2 separate regions of the Homo sapiens genome follow, and region 1 is linked to region 2. The links are contacts of gene promoters, found by promoter capture Hi-C in blood cells and fetal thymus (Javierre and others, 2016). All regions are on one chromosome and are shown on one strand. The core of a region is centred on a gene start or on the middle of the fragment in contact, and the rest is flanking DNA. Distances in the headings are between cores, read along the strand shown.

Region 1 (5,984 bases), core at 895-3,394, 170 kb after region 2:
CTGAGGTATACTCCAGTGGAGATGCTCCATGGATAGGGGCATAGGAGTCTGAAGCTCAGTAAAGAGGATGGGCTGAATTAAATATTTGGAAGTCATCAGGACATAGCTATTAGTTGAGACCACGAGACTGAATGAGATCACCCAATAGGAGTCTCTTAAATGGAACAGTGTGAGTCAAGGACAGAACCCTGGGGAACCAGACTCCATTAGAAATCTGCCTAAATTTGGCTCCAGGGTTATAGAAACAATTGGTATGTTCATCATTTAGAGTAAGTATCCCCAAAGTGCCAGTGTATTAAAAATATAATTCCATAAAAGTATAGAAAAAGATCACTTACTTTAGAGTATGTGTGTGACGCTACATATATTCTTCCTACTGAAAGAATGCTGGACATGGTTTTCAGAAGCCCTGCATGCTAGACCCAGCCCTGGTCCTGGGGATGTGGGCAGGTTGCTGAATGCCCCTAGCCCTTTGGCCCATCTGTACAGTGGAGGTGCCATTGACACAGCTTCCCAGCAGGGTCCTTGTAAAACTCAAATCAGATGGAAGTGGAAATGCGAATGCTTTTTGGAACATGCCGTGTCAATATAAGAGGTTATCTTTGCATATGTGCTGTCACCTGATTTGGGTTTTCTTGGTATCCATAGGCATAGGCAGCAATTATTCTCAAGACACTGCCTGAATAACAGGTAATTCTTCATAGAAATTGGAGTTTTAGCTTGTAAAAATCAACCTTCTGAAGACCAGTCTCTATAGTAAACTCTGGTCATGCTTTTCTTTGAAACCAAATCATTTTCTCTGTATTTTCACAATATTTTGGAATTGCAAGTGATTGATATACTTACCATGAACTTACCATAAACCCTTGAGATAATTTTCTTAGGAAGTCCTAGGGCATATGTGACAGGTTGTACAACCTGAAGACTATACTCTGGCATTTTGCTTCAATTTCAACAGTTTCTAATGTTTAGGGGAAGCAGTTGACCTCATTTTGAGTTTACGCCTTCTGGTATTAAAGCAGATGTTTGATGGTTAATTTGAGAGGAGATTCAAGAACCTTTTCAGACCATTAGTGGAGTGAACATCCTGAGGGTGTAATCCCAGTAATGCAGTTTCTCAAAGGACCTAACTTTATAACAGATAGACATTTAAGTCCTGGGACACCTTGATCATTTTTCTGTACTTCATATATTAAACCAGAATGCTGATCCTGGCATACCTCCTCAGGGTTTGGCCTTTTCATCAGTGAAGGCTGTGACTATTTGGAACTAATTGATAAATGTGTTAGTGGCTTTCACCAGCTAATGAAACCAGGCCACCAGTTTTGCTCTTCTTCCCACCAAATTGACCAAGCAACCAATTGCTTCATTATAATTACAGAGAATCTTGGATTTATTTGCTGAACAAGAAAAATACAGTCATTTAATCTTTATGTATTAAATGAACACAACCATTTGTAAAAAGTAATTGAATTGTACAGTTCAACAAATGTTTATGAAAAGTCTACCCAATGCAAACCTTTGTCAGGCTCTTAGGGAGTAAAAGAAGAATAAAGACAGGTCCTGCCCTCGAGCTTGGGGTGTTTGTTCTTTCCGTTAACAAATAATTTTTTTGTTGTTGGGCACTCACTGTGTACCAGACGCTACTGTGAGCTCTGGAAAAATACAGGAAATAAAACAGACAAAACCCCCTCCTCTCAGGGAGCTTAACTTCTAGCACAAGTAGTAGGACAAAATATAGAAAGAACACAAAAGTAGGACAAAAGACAAAAATATATTGAATGTTAGGGTGATTCAGTATATGGATAAAAAACTTGGTAGGAGCAATATAAAATTCAGTAACAAAGATTTACTGTTTGACACAGAGATTTTTAAAAGCTTCTCTGATAAGGGACATTTGAGCAGATGAACAAAGACCTAAGGATGGGAGGAGGCAGCTCCATGTGAATATCTGGGAGAAGAGTGTTCTAGGCCAAGTCCTTGGAGGGAGAGTGCGCAGTGGGATCAAGGAGCAGCAGAGGGACCAGTGGGCTGGAGCAGATGAATTCGGGCGTCATGGGCGTCGAGGGCCCAAGCCTTTTTGTTTTCTTTCTGCAATACAGAATGCTAACCACATGTGTTGAGCATTTGTCCTGTAAGGATAAACTCCTCTGTTTAATTGTATCTTCTGTATGACAGTTGCACAAGGTAAGTGGCATTATCCTTATTTTGCAGACAAAGGTCAGTGACATTATCCTATATTTGAGGCTCTGGGAAGTGAAAGGACTTGTTCAAGGTCACACAGTATGTGGTGGAATCTACAATTCCACTCCATGATATCCTTTTGAATCCATGCAGGTGCTGAGTTCCCTCACCCATCAGGCCTTTCCACACGTTTCCCCCTGCTTAGAATGCTCCCCCATCTCTTTGCCAAGCTTCCAGCTACCAATTCTTGCAGTCTCATCTTAGTCATCACCTCCTCTGATAAGCCTTTCCTGGACTCCCCTACCCTCCAGATTCCATCTAGGTTAGGTGCCCCCTCTGTTCCCATGGCATCCCGTGAAACCCTTCCCTTAGTGCTTTCCATAGGCTGTGCCCCTGTGCATATGGGTTCATGAAGGCAGGGACTGTGGCTGTCCAAGCCCAGCCCCTAGGACAATGACAGGAGAGTTAGGTGTTCTTAGGTGTTCATGGAATTGACCAAGGCCTCAAATTCTACGCTTTTTTTATTTTAAGATGACAGGTCAGGGCTGAGAATATATTATGATTGCTACCATTTATTGAGCATCTACTACGAGCCAGGCTCTATTCTGAGCTCTCTGCATTAACTCACCTACTCCTCATGACAGCGCTATGATATGACACTCAGCTTGGGAAGAGCTGCCCATTGATTGTCTTATTCTGGCCCAAACCCATGATTTTCTCATAACTCAAAGCAGTCTTTTTTAAATAAATGAAAGCCTTCTGGAAAGTTTCTCTGATTGACCGAAAAGGATGTTTGCACATCTGTAGTAGTGATGCATTTATATCCTCATACATATTTATTTGGATCTGACTTCGATTCTTTCCTTAGAACAGATTCCTGGAAAGGCACACAAATTAACGACTTTTAGAGCTGGCATTGTGGATAAGAGCTGGGGCTCCTGAGTAGAATGGACCTGGGTGTTTCCAGTCTTGGTTCTGCCACTTCTCTGTTGTGGGATCTTGATCAGGTTACTTTACCTCTCTAAGCCTCAGTTTCTTCAATGATAAAATGGAAGTCCTGGAAATACTCACCTGAGGGTGGTTGTTAGAATTAAATTTGTGATGTGGAGGTGCATGTAAAGCCTTTAGCCCAGAGCCTGGTATGTAGTACATGCTCAGTGATGTTCACTTTTAAACATTCTGTTTGCTACCACTTTTGGGAAAAGCATCAAACACATGTTCCAGTGACGGGTATTGGTGCCATTTTTCTAGTTCCCCTCATAGATCTTAAGTGCACAATTGGATAAATTTTGACATATGTACACATTGTGTAATCAATACTCCAAATACTATATGGAACATTTCTGTCATCCTAGAAAGTTTTTAGTGCCCCTTTCAGTTAGTCCCCAAACACCCCCATAGGCACCCAGTGATTCTGTGTTGATATTATAGGCTGTGGATATCCACATTGAAACTATTGAGTGTCTTCAAAGTAGAATTGCTTCTCAGGAGTGTCCTTTTCAGTATAAGAGGATGGGCTCTTTAAACTGACTACATGAGTGTAATGGCAGTTATGATCAGAAGAGACTACCCAAAGAAAGACTTCATCCCATCAGTCAGTTTTACTCTCTGTAGAGAAAAGTAATTACAGGAGGATAAACACCAGCACATCAACAGTTGTTGTCTGAGGTAATATAGGTGATTTTTATTTTCTTTTTGATGGTTTTCAAATGTTCTGTATTGAACAAGTGTTGTCTTTTTATCATTAAAAAAATGCCATCCTATTTATTTATTTATTTAGAGATGGAGTCTCACTCTGTCACCCAGGCTGGAGTGCAGTGGCTTGATCTCAGCTCACTGCAGCCTCTCCTCCCGGGCTCAAGCGATTCTCCTGCCTCAGCCTCCCAAGTGCCTGGGATTGCAGACATGCGCCACCACACTCGGCTAATTTTTGTATTTTTAGTAGAGACGGGGTTTCACCATGTTGGCCAGGCTAGTCTCAAATTCCTGACCTCAAGTGATCCCCTACCTGGGCTTCACAAAGTGCTGGGATTACAGGCATGAGCCACCGCACCTGGGCAGAAATGCTATTTTAGAAGTGATCTCATGTGATACTATGTTTTTCAACATGATGTCAGAAATTGGTAACCTGCTGTTTTATCAGTTAAGTTCTGTCAAGCCCCAGCCTCACGCCGTGACCACTCCTTGTCTGTGAAACCCAGTTCTACAGAAGTCACAAAGCCATTGTCTTAGTCTGCTCAGTACTGCTTAGTCTGCTGCCATAATAAATACCACAGACTGGATTCCTTGAACAGAAATGTATTTCTCACAGCTCTGGAGACTGGGAATTCCAAGATCTGGGTGCTGGCCAATTTGGTTCCTCATGAGGGCTCTCTTCCTGGCTTTAAGGTGGCTGCCATCTTGCTGTGTTCTCATGCGGTGAGGGGATGGAGAGAGCACAGGCTTTCTGGTGTCTCTTGTTATAAGGTCACAAATTCCATCATGAGACCTCACCTTTGTGGCCTCACCTAGCCCCAATTATCTCCCAAAGGCCCTACCTCCAAATGCTATCACATTAGAGCTTAGGGCTTCAATATATGAATTCTGGCAGGACACAAAACATTCAGTCCATTACAGCCATTCATTCATACACGTGTTTGGGGTTTTCAGTTACATTAAGCAACATGTTTTGCAGCTACTTGGTTTGATAGTGCCAAATCTACCCGGAAATGATTTCAGCCCTAAGGAAAACAGCTCCTGCTACAGTGGAACACACAGTAGACAGGCACGAGAGAATAACCAAGGATTAGACCGAGGCGTTGTCATGCGTTTGGCTCATTAAGCCATGCATGTTAGGCTTGGAGCTCTATTTTGAGGTGTGTTGAGACCAAATCCTTCTCCTAGATCCCAGTACTTAAGCCTGGCAGGAAAAAAAGCTGAGTACACTGTGGTTTTAGAGTGTACCTTTTGATAAATAGTTTGCAGCATGTCCCTGAAAGGGGAATTTTTTCCTTTGTCTTGCAAATGTCAAATTGTACTTTTCTGTAAACTTTGTAAGTAGAAATGTGAAGTGGTACAAGTGCTCTGTTGCTTTTTGGTGAAAATGCTCACACATGATGAATTTCTCAGTTCAGTTGCAAAGAGAAGTTAGTGAAACCTAACAGGCAAACTACCCCACACCCTGGAGAACAGTGTCCTGGGGGTGTCTGGTTTGCTAGGTGTGTGGCTGGTGCAGCAATGGGAAGGTGGCGCTTTGACTGCCTGGCCCCTCACATCTTGCTCCTCCCTTTTCACTGCTCCTCTGGCCTCCAGAGTAGCCATGTAAGCCTGTGCTTTCACGTACAGAATTGCTGCTCTACCCTGTTCTTGGCATTTGCGTCAAAATTTACTGTGTTCCGCTGACAAAATTCTAGAATCTCAAAGCTGGAATGGAGTTCAAAGTTATATACCCTTCTTCTTTCAAAGCATGAATATCCAACATCTGCCGAGCAGTCATTTTTTTCCGTACTTAAACACCTATAAGCAAAGAGGAACTTATACTTCCTCCACTTTCAGGGATGTACGGCTTTTGGAAATTTCGCCTTTCTGTTGACTCAAACATTGTTTCCCAGTAGCTTCAGTTCACTGGTTCTGGACCACCTATAAGGGGTAGACTTAAAAAAAAAAATACAGCTCTCTTACAAGAAAGCTGTGGAGATATGTGAAGGCAGTCTGGGTCTCCCAATCTAGTTTACCTGTTAACAAAGGAAATACTATTAGCCTGATAGTCGCTCGTTCTGGCTGTTTCTTCAGGATTACTGATTTCTCAGTAATCCATAAAC
Region 2 (5,594 bases), core at 1,372-3,871:
GTTGGGTTTATAGGTGTGAGCCACCTTGCCTGTCCCCAGAGAGGTATTTTAAAACACAAATCCTCATCTTACCCTGGCTCTGCTTAACAGCCTTCAGAGGCGTCCAGTGGCCCATAGATAATGTCCAAGGCTTTCCTGTGATCTACCAGTCTGGTCAGTGTGACCACCTTTGCAAGCTCATTTCAGCCACTCTCCCCTCACCTTCCTCAGCTCCAGCCACGCCTTCCTCAGCTCCAGCCACGTAGGGTGCTTTTGGTTCCCAAACAGGCCAACCCATCTGTCTCCTCAGGAGCTCTCAATGAGCTGATCTCTCTGCTATTTGCTTTTTCAAGGAACCCTTCCCTGACCACCCATCCAGTTATAATACATCACCCCTTGGCACCGTGGGCTTTTCCTTCACTGCACCCTCTTCTATTAGTTGTTTTTCCTCCTTGTGGGACTGTAAGCCCCAGGAGGGCAGGCACCATGGCTGTCTGACCCACTGCTCTGTCACCATTGCCAATCCTGATAGGTACTGATAGGGTGAAGATGGAGTGTCTGGTATCGTCATATCCCAGTCCCAGGACAGCTGTGTGGCCACCTACCATTTGGGGACTGTTTTCTTTTTAAAATTTAAAAAAAAATTTAAAGTCTACACCCCATGATTCTGTATGGGGACTGTTTTCTTTTAGCCCCAAAGTCCAACAGGAGCAAATCCTTTAGTGGCTCTTAAAGCTAGAGTTCAGCTGTTTGGAGGAAAGGGTGACAGAGCTGACCCACAGGGTAGATGCGACATCTTCCCCTGGAGCACTAAGGCCAAACAGGAGCCCCCTGGACGTTTGGGAGCAGGCTTTACAAGCCCTGCCTAAAGCTAAGATGTCATTAGAGTGATGCGTTGCATCCCTGCCTTGTTCTCTAAGGAAGCTTTGGTGTTTTCAAGACAGGCCCTTTCCCCCCTGGCCCATTGTCCTTACTTGTTTTCATTCTGTATAGTGCTGTTATTACGGGTCAGGCCTCCTTGCACTCATGTGAAATCGTTGAGAACCTACTCAATTAGAAAGTTCTGAACAGGGCCTTAGAGGAGTGGGGGCTAGAAAGATGAACCTGGGGCCAGGCACGGGGGCTCATGCCTGTAATCTTAACACTTTAGGAGGCAGGGGCTGGAAGATCACTTGAACCTGGGAGCTGGAGGTTATGGTAAGCCATGATCACACCGCTGTATTCCAGCCTGGATGACAAAGCAAAACCCAGTCTCTAAAACATAAAAGAAAGAAAGGAGGGAAGGAAGAAAGAAAGGAATGAAAGCAAGCCGAATCTGCTCCGAGGGAACCAGTATAGCAAGACAGAATGTAATCAAGTATCTTAAGAGTGGCCTAGGCTTGGCTGGGTGCTGTGGCTCACGCCTGTAATCTCAGCACTTTGGGAGGCCGAGGCAGGCGAATCACTTGAGGTCGGGAGTTTGAGACCAGCCTGACCAACATGGAGAAACCCTGTCTCTACTAAAAATACAAAATTAGCCGGGCGTGGTGGCGCATGCCTGTAATTCCAGCTACTCGGGAGGCTGGGGCAGGTGAATCGCTCGAACCTGGGAGGCGGAGGTTGCGGTGAGCCGAGATGGCGCCATTGCACTCCAGCCTGGGCAACAAAAGCGAAACTCCGTCTCAAAAACAACAACAACAACAACAACAAAAAGTGGCCTAGGCTTTTTGGGGAACAAATTGGTTGTGGCTGGCCCTCAGGGAGCAAGCTTTGCGGCATAGCAGCGTAGGCTAAAAGGTCCTCCCCGGAGACAAAATCTGCAGGGACCACGGGGTGGGAAGCATCAGAAGGCTGCCCACTCTGACTGCAAATACAACAAGCTGGAGTGTTCCTAGAAGAGGCAATTTCTTCCGCGTGTGTGTTGGGGACAGCCTGTGTGTGTGAACATTTTCTGCCCTTGCCGCGCAGAGCTGGGTGGACCAGAAACCACCCGCAGAGGAAGAGACTTATTACCTCTTGGCCATGTCTGTCTCCAGAAGAACCGACCTTTCCTGCTCTATGTGCAACAAGACACACCTTCCGAGGAAGGAGGCGAACAGGATTTCCATCATTACTACTGCCCTATTAAAACACACACATACACACAACTGTGTAATTAGCCTCTGCAGGAAAGGCGCACAAACAGGATGCGTTCGAGCTGACCCCGGGATGAGCCATCCCTGTAAATATTAGGAAAAAGAACCTCCCCGCCGTGCCCCCGCCTCCGGCCAGGGCCTCTTGGGGATGGCCCTGCAGGGTCACCAGCCCACCGGGGAGGTTGGGAGAGAGGGGGCGGGCGACTCCTCGCCGCGCGGGTTCCTGGCTGGAGCGCCCTCCTCTGCGTCCTCCCAACCTTCCATCGCTCCCCAGGTCAGTCTACCACGCCTCAGGTGTTTGCTCGGGCTGGGCCACGAACCCTTTCCTTTTTGGCCTGCGCCCGGGGTGGCCCCTAACCCGCAGCGCACGGCCAGACCCAGCGCTACAAGGAGGGCGCGCAGGGCGGCGCAAGCGGGCACTGGCCTCCCGGGGGCTTGCGCGGGGATCCACCCACCGCAGGGCCGGGCCGCGGACCGCGGGCCACGCCCCTGGGGTCCGGAAGGCGCGGGAGCGGACGCGGGGGTTCTGTGAACTTGGAACCTGGCGGTGCGAGGTTCTCGCCGGGGATGCGGCGGCGGCAGCTGCTTCCTGGTTTGAAGCTCGCCGAGTGGGGGAGAGCGTGAGCCTTCGGAGGCGGGGGCAGGAGGAGAAGCAAGAGGAGGCGGGGGAAGAGACGCTTGGGGCTGGGGCTCACCGGACGGGTAGGTCCGGCTCTCCAGGGAGAGGAGCTGCCCGGCCCTGGAGAAGGGGCGAGTCCTGCGCGAGTCCCCGGGAGGCGCCGCGCGCTTGGAAGGGACGGTCGGGCTTCCCCGGCCCGCTGAGGGCTCGGCGGCGGGCTCCCCTCCTTTCCACCTCGGGAGGGAGGGAAGGAGGGGAGGGAAAAGTCCCACGGAGGAGGCAGAATGGCCAGTCGAGGGGCGCTTAGGCGCTGCCTTTCCCCAGGGCTGCCTCGACTCCTGCACCTGTCCCGAGGGCTGGCCTGAGACGGGACTCCCGGTTCTCCCGCTGCGAAGCAGCGCGGCCCCCCGGGGCCGGGGCAGCGGCGCCGGCATGTCGTCTGGCACCATGAAGTTCAATGGCTATTTGAGGGTCCGCATCGGTGAGGCAGTGGGGCTGCAGCCCACCCGCTGGTCCCTGCGCCACTCGCTCTTCAAGAAGGGCCACCAGCTGCTGGACCCCTATCTGACGGTGAGCGTGGACCAGGTGCGCGTGGGCCAGACCAGCACCAAGCAGAAGACCAACAAACCCACGTACAACGAGGAGTTTTGCGCTAACGTCACCGACGGCGGCCACCTCGAGTTGGCCGTCTTCCACGAGACGCCCCTGGGCTACGACCACTTCGTGGCCAACTGCACCCTGCAGTTCCAGGAGCTGCTGCGCACGACCGGCGCCTCGGACACCTTCGAGGGTTGGGTGAGTAGCGGTGACCCCTTCCCTTTGTGTCCACCCAACCCCCGTTCCCCTTATGTTTTTCAAAACTCACCCGGGTCCCGCTTTCCCATCGCTTTGTGGCTGAGGGAATTCCCTCCAGACTTTGGTCTTCGTCCACGTGGCCGCGGCACTGGTGACGCGACCGCGGTGGGTGTGTGCAGGCGCAGGTGTGTCTCCAGGAAGCCGGCCTGGACACGATCCCCTTTCAGGACAGCGGCTTGGCCTAACGGGAAGTCGGGCAGGGGTCCAGGGCGGTCACCCTTTCCGCCCAGTCTTTGGGTAAGGAGCTCCAACTTTCAGCACGAGAGTGATAGGTAGGAAAGGCAGGGAAGGAGTGATACAAAAGGGACTTGATTTGGGTAAAGTGCTTCAAGCGCTACTTAGGAGAAAGCCGTACATTCTCGCGAGTATTATTCATAATGTTTATGGATACATGTTGGTTCAGCCGCTCAGACGTGCACACGTGTTTCGGCTTGCACATCCCAGAGGTACATGAGCTACACTGGCAGGGAAATGAGCGCCTGGGTCTGCACGTTGGCAGTTTTATTATTTAGCATTTTTCCAAGGAGATGAGATTTACATATACTTGCAAGTAACTTAGTCAGTCCGAGGTGGGAGTCCTGCAGTGTGGGTTTCTGCTGCTATGGGTCTGAGAAGAGGCTGTAAGGACTCCTCAGGAGGTTGTTAACTGTCTTCCCTCCCCCCATCACCAGCCTGTGTTCCTGGGTATTGACGTGTAGCTACCCGCAGCTCTCCCCTTGCCTCTGCTTTTCACATAGTTCCCAGGAGGCATAATTTCTGCTGTAAATCAATTAAAACTTCTAGAGCGCTCTACACGGTGCTAACATGCTTTTACTGCCTAATCCTCACACTGTCTTTGTGATGCAGGTGTCATCGTTCCCACTTTGAGATGATGGAATGATAATTATAATAAAGTAGTCTGGTTTGGCAAAGTGGAGTACGCCATTTGAAGACTCTCAGGAGTTTAATAGTTTAAGTTCTGGAGGGAGTCAGTTTTGAACCCAATATCAGTATTGAAAATGTTTGAAATTTACAAGTGGTGAAATCAGATGGATGGTGATGAAGGCTCATTTAGGTATTTATTTTATACTTTGTGGAATTAGTAATTTTACCGTATATTTTCTAAAATTAAAGATGGCTTGTGGAGCTATTCCTTTCTTTTAAATAGAAGTACAAAAACCATAATGACTAACCTTAATCGTCAAATTATATTGAGTTAATTTCCCTTCAGCCTAATTTACTTTGTGGTACTTAGAAGTGGGGACTAGAGAGGAATTGCTAAAATACAGTTAGATATTTACATTTATCCTGTGAATTTCTGGAAATGAAATAGAAGTGAGTGTAGGCATCCAGATGGAATTGTTGAGTTCTATTAGTGTCTGATTAGGAGTTAGGTCGGGCAAAGCTCTAGAGGAACTAGGTTCTGAATTATGGTGGTGCAGATTGGCCAGTGGCCATGAGAAGCATCTCTTCCTGGAGATAGCCTAGACTCGTCCTTCTCAACCATAATCTTCCCACTTGAATCACCCAGGGACCTTTAAAAAATCCCCACTTTTAAAGATTCTAGATAGGAATCTCTGGCTGTGGGACCCCATCATCCGTACTTTTAGGCTCACCAGGTGATTCCAGTATGCAGTCGAGGTGGAGAACCTGCAGCCTACATGAAGACCAAAAGATGAGGACTTCTTGGTGTCATAAGTGTAGGAAGATCCACGTTATCTGACTAGGTGGCATGTACAGAGCTGCTTATTGTTCCACTGGATGAATATTCAGTGTAAATCAGATATCGATATTTATAATGGTCTGAAATAATTACACTTAGATGTTTAATATAACCCACTGGTGGTGTTTTGGAAAACGTTGAGTGGTTGGTAGGGAGGGTCAGCATTTAAATGACCTTGAAACCAGCAGTTTTTCATGCGTTTGCATGCATCAGAAGGCAGATTTTTTTTTTGTTGTTTTTTTTAAAAAGGTTTTGGGTATTTCAGAACTGTAAGGATATGGAACATAGGTTGGGCAGAGTGTTGTTTCTTTTCTTTTTAAAGAAA

Evidence for each region. The method cuts DNA at HindIII sites, captures the fragments that hold promoters and counts their contacts. A CHiCAGO score of 5 or more calls a contact.
Region 1: a contact is called between a fragment that was not itself captured here and the fragment with the promoter of PRKCH in region 2, in 1 of 17 cell types (non-activated CD4 T cells). The highest score is 7.6, in non-activated CD4 T cells.

The regions. Positions count from the first base shown.
Region 1 is chr14:61,494,070-61,500,053 of GRCh38, forward strand. The region is part of intron 10 of PRKCH (protein kinase C eta); the gene reads left to right. Among named protein-coding and RNA genes, the nearest start is that of PRKCH-AS2, 48 kb to the right of the region's middle. The HindIII fragment of the contact is 536 bases long and covers 1,877-2,412 here.
Region 2 is chr14:61,318,958-61,324,551 of GRCh38, forward strand. PRKCH (protein kinase C eta) reads left to right here and starts at 2,622. Exons shown (of 14, transcript NM_006255.5): 1 at 2,622-3,507. The coding sequence starts at 3,145. It overlaps PRKCH-AS1 (PRKCH antisense RNA 1), which reads right to left and starts at 3,861. Exons shown (of 5, transcript NR_186042.1): 1 at 3,578-3,861. RefSeq lists silencers at 2,415-2,684, 2,835-3,004 and enhancers at 2,966-3,510, 3,511-4,054. The HindIII fragment of the contact is 5,451 bases long and covers 1,725-5,594 here.